Linked DNA regions of Homo sapiens: region 1 is linked to region 2. The links are contacts of gene promoters, found by promoter capture Hi-C in blood cells and fetal thymus (Javierre and others, 2016). All regions are on one chromosome and are shown on one strand. The core of a region is centred on a gene start or on the middle of the fragment in contact, and the rest is flanking DNA. Distances in the headings are between cores, read along the strand shown. Region 1 holds the start of TRH-GTG1-5 (tRNA-His (anticodon GTG) 1-5). Region 2 holds the start of H1-4 (H1.4 linker histone, cluster member).

Region 1 (4,638 bases), core at 1,989-4,488, 1.0 Mb before region 2:
ATTTTATTCTGTAATAGATCTAGGACCCTAGCTCTCTCACTAAGAGATAGCCTCTGAGTCAGAGTCCATAGATTTCTGCTACTCAGGCCAGTAAGATCTGAGAAAATGTGTTCTGGAGAATTGCAAGATCAAAATGTTTATTGCTTTAGCAGTTTTATCATTCACTTGTGGCAAAATAATTGACAAGAACTGATCCTTTAGGGTCAATACATACTTGATCCCTGTCTTCACTCTTGTAAGACTGAGTCAAGATAAAATAGACTAAAAAGAAAATTGAAGTAGAATGTGATACAAGTGAACATGAATAACCACTACAAATGCTATTAAATTACTGAGAAGAGGCCTAGAACCTGACCTGTTGGAGAGATGATATCCTACAGTATAAGGCAGCTCAGCTCAATTACAATATCTCTGAGTTTCAGAATCCATGTCAGCTGGATGGACAGTTGGAGAAGAAATGGGGGCTATTTTAGCCCCAAGAAGGAAAGAACAAATCTCTTTTGCTGAAATTTTTGATAAGTTGCTAAAAGTATGAGTATTCTTTTTTTTTGAGACCGAGTCTTACTCTGTCACTCAGGCTGGAGTGCAGTGGTGTGATCTTGGCTTACTGCAACTTCCACTGCCTGGGTTCAGGCAATTCTCGTGCCTTAGCCTTCCGAATAGCTGGGACTACAGGCCTATGCCACTATGCCAAGCTAATTTTTGTATTTTTAGTAGAGACGGGGTTTCACCATGTTGGCCATGCTGGTCTCGAACTCCCGACCTCAGGTGATCTGCCCGCCTCGGCCTCCCAAAGTGCTGGGATTATAGGCATGAGCCACCACACCTGTTTGAATACTAACCTTCCACCAGGGCCAGGAGGGACGAAGTGCCATTAATGTGTTCTCAGAGTGCTGTGCTACTAACTAGAACTGGGCTCATGGAAGCGCCTCTGGGGATCTGCCTGTCTCCAGCCACCTCCTACTGGTCCTAGGTAGCACCAACTACTTCTTTCCAGCCACCTCCGTATCTCAGATCAGCTCTCCTCCACTCCCGCCTCACCCAGTCTACTTGGCTCTTTAGAACTCATTCTAGAAACTGAACGGGCTAGAAATGGGGGCTGTTCTTCTGGGCCATTATTCCCCCCCACCCAAATTCCTTCAATTACTCAAATTTCTTTAATTTTCTCCAGATGATCAAAGGTTACAGTTTTTCAGCATTGGTCCAGCTAGGATACTTAGAAACGCGTGATTAATAATTTGTCTTTTGTGTTTTAAGAAAGATCTCCACAACAAACCTGGATCCCCTTTTGAACAGTCCTTTCCTCATGCCTACCAGTGTTTGAAAGTAAAAGTTTTCCATTAAAAAAAAATTACCTCAGTTTCTTCACATACAGCCAATGCCAACAAGACTGTAGGGCTTGGGTAGGGTTGGGAAGAGAATCTTTGGAGAGGGGAAAAAAAAGACAAGGCAACAAGCGTAGACACTCTCTGCTTGGCTGACTGGTTGGGGCACCATGATGAATACTAGTGTTTTTTGTGTACAGATTAGATCGTAAGTCAATTCAATTTTGCAAGGGTTTTTCCGAGACTGTCTCCACTCCAGTATGTTGAAAAATTGAGGCGACGTCAAGGTACTGCTCAGTACGTTGAGAAATTGAGGCGACATCAAGGTACTGCCGTGACTCGGATTCGAACCGAGGTTGCTGCGGCCACAACGCAGAGTACTAACCACTATACGATCACGGCACGCCACCAGAGGCCGCTGCTTGTGGGGCTCTTCCTTTGCTTATTTCCCAGAAACGTCTGTTTTTGTCATCTAAAGAATGGTGCAGTCTTTCGTCCTTATTTACACACCTACCCAGTTTACTTCCTTATCCACTCCCCGTCCCCAATATTTTGCTTATGGCAAAGAAGCCAAAGGTAACACATTAAGTTTCATTATATGGAATTTTCCCAGCGTGGTGGTTGTTTTTGGGGGTTGGTAATACTGTGCTTGTAAACTCATTATTCTCACTTCTATCTCCAACCCACGCATGTTTCTTGCTCAGTTTAGCAGTGTGGTCCTCAGATCTTTGGCAACAAAAGGAAGAGGGCGCTGCTTTGAAGTGGACCTGCCAGATCCCATTTTTTGCCAAACTAGTCAGAATCTTCGGGGGCTTGGCATGGAATCTGGCATCTCGACAGGTGCCAGAAGTGAGTTTCTCATCACGAGGAACTATGTGGCTTCGTCCTGACCCAGGTACCTATGAGAAGCCAGTGAGGCGCTCGCGCACTCAGCCTGCCCACCTGAGCCGTCAGGAAATGTCCGGCGGCGCTCGCACCTCAGAGTGAAATTTCTTTCTCCCTTTCATACCTAGTTTGCCAGAAGAGGGAGATAAAAGTGCCTCTCCTGTGGCTCCAAAGCTCCGTGGGACTTCCCTCCTGCCCCGCTTGCTGTTTTAGGAACGTAGCCTCTAGAGTCAAGGTCCTGGTCGTGTTTTCCCCTTGATACCAAATGATTTTCTTTCTGTAAAATCATTCTGGTCTTAAACTCCTGAACTCAACTGATCCGCCCCTCTCGGCTTCCCAAAGCGCTAGGATTACAGGAGTGAGCCACCGCGCCCGGCCTCTTCTCTTTACCTGGTTAAATTTGTTTAATGCTTCAGCTTCAACTCAAGAAAGCTTTTCAAATCAAGGAAGCTTTTCTTGACCTCCCGTCTCCACGCAACACATGGTTCCTTGGTTTTTTTTTTTTCCTTCCCTCCCTTCTTTCCCTCCTTCCTTCCTTCCTCTCTCCCTCCCTCCTTCCCTCTCTCTTTCTTTTCTTTTCTTCTTTCCTTCCTTCTTTCTTTCTCTCTCTCTCATTCTCTTTCTTCCTTCCTTCCTTTTCTTTCTTTCTTTCTCTTTCTTCTTCTTTTTTTTTTTCTCAGAGTCTCGCTCTGTTGCCCAGGCTGGAGGGCAATGACACAATCTCGACTCATTGCAACCTCCACCTCCCGGGTTCAAGCGATTCTCCTGCCTCAGCCTCCCGAGTAGCTGGGATTACAGGCGTAAGCTACTACGCAGGGCTAATTTTTGTATTTTTATTAGAGAGGGGGTTTCACCATGTTGGCCAGGCTGATCTATAACTCCTGACTTCAAGTGATCCACCCGCCTCGGGCTCCCAAAGTGCTGGGATTACAGGCGTGAGCCATCATGCCCGGCCACTTGATTCTTTTTCACTTTTCCTTTAGTGCTCTTATATCAGTTTGTAATGTATAATACCAGAGTTATTTGATTAATGTCAGCCTCCATCCTCCCGCTCCATATGCCCCAAGACGAGGAATATCTATTTTGTTCAATAATCTATCACTAGGGCTCCCCATTTGGTAGGTTCTTTATCAATATAGTTTGGCTGCAGAATGAATGAATGGGTGGGCAGAGACTACCATCCAAAGCTCTATGAAAGCAACTTCTCCCAGCAGCATCTGGCCTAGTTCAGCAGGCTTGCCTTTTGACCTTTGATGGGAAAAGATTGGTAATAATTTAAAGAAAGGTTGGGAGGTCAAGACAGGAGTATTGCTTGAGGCCATGAATTTGAATCAAGTTTGGGCAACATAGTGAGACCCTGTCTCTACAAAAAAAATAAAAAAATTTAACCAGGCACAGAGGTGCATGCCTGTAGTCCCCATTACAAGGGAGGCTGAGGCAGGAGGATCACTTGAATCCAGGAGTTTGAGGTTGCAGTGAGCTATGATTGTGCCTCTGCACTGCAGCCTGGGCTACAGAGCAAGATCCTCCCTCTAAAATAATAATAATAAATTTAAAAATGAAGGGAGTTCAAAATTACCCCTGCAGCTATCCATAATAAAGCTTCTCAGCAGAGCCAAAATAATGTGCTTAATTTCCTAAAATTTTCTTTATCTCCTTTCCTCTGTCTGGATTACACAAAAGTATTCTAATTACTAATAGGTTTACTGAATGAAGAATTACCTGTTTCCTAGCATCATTGTTATTATTATTATTATTATTATTATTATTATTATTATTTTATTTTATTTTATTTTTTGAGATGGAGTCTCGCTCTGTCGCCCAGGCTGGAGGGCAGTGGTGCGATCTTGGCTCACTGCAACCTCCGCCTCCTGGGTTCAAGTGATTCTCCTGCCTCAGCCTCTTGAGCAGCTGGGACTACAGGCGCGTGACACCACGACTGGCTAATTTTTTGTATTTTTAGTAGAGACGGGTTTTCACTGTTTCAGACAGGATGATCTCGATCTCCTGACCTTATGATCCGCCCACCTCCGCCACCCAAAGTGCTGGGATTACAGGCATGAGCCACCGCACCCAGCCCTAACATTAATTTGTTTGATCAGGGAAGTGACCTAAGGGCTTTCTCAGTCTCAAAGACATGAGCTCCATCAAAGAAAATGCAGCCAGTAAGAAGGAAATGCAAGCTGCCTCTGTCTCAAGTCTCTTTGAGTTAGATCTTTCCTTTTCCTTTGCTTAGGGCCTTCCCCAACCCCATTTAGAAAGCTGCTGTGAATGAAAGTGCTTTTCAGCATTTTCTGCTGGGATGTTTTTGGAAATTGGGTTGATCTGCATGTGCTTCTCCATAAAAAGAGGGAAAAGCTGTATCTTTGATGTCATAGGCCTAGAAAAAGGCCTCTTTCCTTGTGCTTATTTTGGAAGGCCATTTTGA
Region 2 (4,652 bases), core at 213-2,712:
CATTCCTTTCTTCCTTTAACAAAGTATGGGACTCGTTGCATACAGAAGCCGTGCTAATTGGGACATCCCCCCCCCCCAAGTCTGTCAGTTTTACGTTTCGGCAAGTCCTTAATCCATCCAAATGCCACATTTAAGGACCAAGTATTTTTCTGCAGTGTCGGTTTCTAATTTTCAGTTATGTGGCAGTAGTCTCCCCAAGCACTTGAAATGTAGCCCTTCGGAAATAATGTCAGTACTATGCCACTTGTCCTAAGACGTACTCCTCTGAAGTCCCTCACTGCCTGCCATACTCGATAGGGATAACCAGTAGGCTTGTAACCAGCACAGAAACTGATACACTGTGCCGTGTTTGGAACTCGGAAAAACCCAGCTTAGAAACCCGGGAAAATCCCAACATTTTTTTTCCCATGCTATCTGGAGGCCAGGGCCTGCTAAAAGTGCAAAGCACAAGGGAGGCCCAAATGGGTTCAACTCCGACACTCGAGAACGCAAAATCGAGATGACGCCACTGCACTCCGGCTTGGGCGACGCGACGCCTTAGTCAAAAATAGCTCCGGAGACACACAAAATCCCACTCCTCTCCCCGACTTTGTTCCCGGGAGACCCGCCCCTGCTTAGCAGCGTTTTCCCGAGCCACGCCCCCTAATAGTGCAACAGCTCTTTTACTGAGAGCGGTGGGTGGCTCTGAAAAGAGCCTTTGGGTTGTGTTGGGCTTCTAAGCAGTTGGCCAAAGGAACTTTCTACTTTTTCTTGGCTGCCGCCTTCTTTGGCTTGGCTGCCTTGGGCTTGGCGGTCTTTGGTTTAGCCGCCTTGGGTTTAACTGCTTTGGCCTTCGCTGGGCTCTTGGGCGCCTTTTTTGGCTTGGCTGCTTTCGCCTTTTTCGGGCTTTTCGCTTTTTTGGCTCCAGCAGCTGCAGCCGGCTTCTTCGCCTTCTTTGGGGTCTTCTTGGCGCTCTTCTTGGGGGTGGCCGCCCCCGTCGCCTTCTTGGGCTTCTTCGCCGCTCCTGCTGGCTTCTTGGCCTTGGCCGCGCCTGCCTTTTTAGCCTTAGGCTTGGCTTCCCCAGAGGCCGCCTTCTTGTTGAGTTTGAAGGAACCCGACGCGCCGGTGCCCTTGGTCTGCACCAGGGTGCCCTTGCTCACCAGGCTCTTGAGACCCAGCTTGATGCGGCTGTTGTTCTTCTCCACGTCATAGCCAGCGGCTGCCAGCGCTTTCTTGAGAGCGGCCAAAGATACGCCGCTGCGCTCCTTGGAGGCGGCAACAGCTTTAGTAATGAGCTCGGACACCGGGGGCCCAGACGCTTTGCGCTTGGCCGCACCTGCAGACTTGCGGGCCTTCTTCTTCACGGGAGTCTTCTCGGCAGGGGCCGGAGCAGCGGGCGCGGCAGGCGCAGTCTCGGACATGTTGAAGGCAAGCGTGAGCGAGAGCAATTCGAGCCGGAAGCAGAGGCACTGGCCGGGACTCGAGCCGCGGCGCTGCGCCCGCCCGTTTATATAGGGCGGAGCTGCGCCGTGATTGGTGCGCTGTCCAGCCCGCCTCGCTGGCAGCCGCAGAGTGTCCTCTCGGATCCCGAGTTGTGTTTGTTACACCTCAAAAAAAGCCAAAAATATAAAAATTGTCTACACCGAACTGCCCGGTTTTTCTCAGATAATGATCCCCGAACCCTCAGGCTTCACGCAGATCTCAAATTATAAGGGAAGCACAAAGCCTTGTGCCAAAAACTTGCAATATTTCCCGCCGTGCTTGGCAAATTTCAACTCAGAGAAACAAAACTTTCTATTTTCTTCGTAAATTATAAACCGATCTTTAACTGTGGACTTTTCTGACCTCTCAAATATGATACTCCAAGTGGTTAGCTTCTTATATATCCAAAAAGCATGCCACTGGCATTAAGATTTTTATTACAAATCTGCACTTAAGTGAGGGAAGTAACACAGGCTCCTCGGAGAGTCCTGCCTATTGAGCCGAGGGCATTTGAGTTCATCAAACTGGTTTAGTTTAATGCCAAACAAATTATTGCCCATTTGAGATTAAGTTTTGGACCCCTGGGACATCAATCTATACAGCCATGGTTTTACATCTGTCCGCTACATCTGAGTTTTTAAACAATTCTTTGGATAATTCTTTCCCTTTCTGCTCCCAAGGGTTGGGGGCGGGGCTGTTGCTTCTCTCTTCCTCTGGACAATTGCTCCATGGATTGAGATACCTTGAATTCAGGGTATTTGGGAACGAAGGGAAGTCCAAAATGTACTCAGGGTACAGAGATGAAAAAGGATTAATTTTCAAATGTGATGTTCATAAAGTCACTGGAAGTGGAGGTGCACTTTACTTTAAAGCATTTGTCTGCAGCCTTGCTGAGTGCTTTTGGCATATGCTTCAGAACCAAATTGCAATAAAGTAGCTTAGAGCTGAAATTCAAGCATTGATGATAAGGCAAAATAAATAAGAAACGTAGATTGAAACATCTACTCCCATTATTAGTGAAACCCAGCCCCTATTATTACTGAATAGTTGAGGAATGACTAGTCCACTCACCACGTATGGTTTCAATCCCCCTGAAGATTGTATTCCAATGCTTCCCAGAGCTCAATAGAAAGAAAAATAAGTGACATGTAGTGATTAAACGACAAGTTCAAATTTCGATCTCAGAAGTAGAGCTTTGAGAGTCTATCTAAGCTATTATAAATCATTGCCCTCTGAAAACATCCTTTGAACAATGTCTGAGTGAATTTCTTTAGGTAGTTGCCCAATCAAGAAGAGTGTATGTAAGCTGGCAATGAAAGCCCAACCAAAAGAATTATTTCTGGTCCGGGCGCGGTGGCTCACGCCTGTAATCCCAGCACTTTGGGAGGCCGAGACGGGCGGATCACGAGGTCAGGAGATCAAGACCATCCTGGCTAACACGGTGAAACCCTGTATCTACTAAAAGTACAAAAAATTAGCCGGGTGCGGTGGCGGGCGCCTGCAGTCCCAGCTACTCGGGAGACTGAGGCAGGAGAATGGCGTGAACCCGGGAGGCGGAGCTTGCAGTGAGCCTAGATAGTGCCACTGCAGTCAGGCCTAGGCGAAAGAGCAAGACTCCGTCTCAAAAAAAAAAAAAAAAAGAATTTTTTCTGAAAAACGATATGGCTGGAACAGTATGGGTGGAACTACAAGCCACTTATCATGGAAACAAAATAAAATTTTGCCCAGTGCTATAAGGTGATATGATACTGTTCTGTGGACGTGGTTGATTGTAATATGGCGTTGGATATCATTTTAAATTTTAATTTCATTGCCCAAAATCTCCAGACACAAATTCTGCTACTGAAATAAGGAGAATATAGAATTTTGATATAACACGAGTGAAATGTATCAAAACAGTACTGTTTAATGTTGAATTTGTTATAAAAGTGATGTAAATTATCAATGTTTTTAATATCTTGATGTGTATTTTCAATCTAATTATTGCACATCAGTGCAAAAATAAATATGCCCTTTGGTATTTATTGAAATAAAAAGGGAGATGGATAAATCTCCAAAACAGACTAGGGAAACTGATTATATGGGCATTTGATTCCAGAATGGTAATATTATACCTATTTAATGACAACAAAAACCACTCCTGTAAATGACTGAAACTTACACAACACATGGAAGTTTGCTTTCACATGCCTCACTTTATCCAGTGTATTCCTCATGGCTAGGAAGGAGTTAAACTCTCCAAATTCTGTGGTCTTTCAACTTCCACTGCTTGCCTCCTTAAGGTGTGGTGTGTTTTCTTTACTTTACTTTTCTTTTCTTTTTTTGAGACAGAGTCTCACTGTGTCACCCAGGCTGGAGTGCAATGGCGCGATCTTGGTTCACTGCAACCACTGCCTCTGCCTCCAAATGCATGGGCTGGGAGAGGTGGCTCACGCCGGTAATCCTAGCACTTTGAGATGCTGAGGCGAATGGATGACTTGAGATCAGGAGTCCGAGGCCAGCCTGACCAACAAGGTGAAACCCCATCTCTGCTAAAATAAAATAATAATAATAATAATAATAATAATAATAATAATAGTTAGGTGTGGTGGTGTAATCCCAGCTACTCGGGAGGCTGAGGCAGGAAAAGCCCTTGAACCAGGAAGGCGGAGGTTGCAGTGAACGTGCTCTCGAGCCTTGGTGACAGAGATTGAGGATTGACCACTATGAAATCAAGCATCTATTTGACACTTGTCGGTGATGAAATAGGAACAATAACAAAAGGCCTTACTTTCTTATTGGTCAGCGGGCTGGCTATCTCAGAACTAGGCGTGTGTGCACACACACATGTTCATGCATGTGTTCTATTTTTTATTTTGTTATTATTTTTTTGAGATGGAGTTTCGCTCTTGTCACCGAGGCTAGAGTGCAATCAATGGAGCGATTTCTGCTCACTGCAAAGTCCACTTCCCGGGTTCAAGCGATTCTCCTGTCTCAGCCGCCCAAGTAGCTGGGATTACAGGTGCCCGCCACCACACCCAGCTAATTTTTGTATTTTTAGTAGAGACAGGGTTTCACCATGTTGGTCAGGCTGGTCTCCAACTCCTGATATCAGGTGATCCACCCGCCTCGGCCTCCCAAACTGCTGGGATTACAGGTATGAACCACCCAGTCATGCATGTGTTTTAAACATAGATTCTGAGGCCTTGCTC

The links. The method cuts DNA at HindIII sites, captures the fragments that hold promoters and counts their contacts. A CHiCAGO score of 5 or more calls a contact.
Region 1: a contact is called between a fragment that was not itself captured here and the fragment with the promoter of H1-4 in region 2, in 11 of 17 cell types (total B cells, naive B cells, activated CD4 T cells and 8 more). The highest score is 19.2, in total B cells.

Annotation. Positions count from the first base shown.
Region 1 is chr6:27,155,216-27,159,853 of GRCh38, reverse strand. It overlaps TRH-GTG1-5 (tRNA-His (anticodon GTG) 1-5), which reads right to left and starts at 1,727; the gene lies at 1,656-1,727. RefSeq lists a silencer at 1,567-1,616. The HindIII fragment of the contact is 1,152 bases long and covers 2,663-3,814 here.
Region 2 is chr6:26,153,139-26,157,790 of GRCh38, reverse strand. H1-4 (H1.4 linker histone, cluster member) reads right to left here and starts at 1,462. Exons shown (of 1, transcript NM_005321.3): 1 at 676-1,462. The coding sequence starts at 1,400. The coding sequence ends at 741. RefSeq lists enhancers at 1-229, 959-1,038, 1,299-1,458, 983-1,734 and a silencer at 619-668. The HindIII fragment of the contact is 19,818 bases long and covers 1-4,652 here.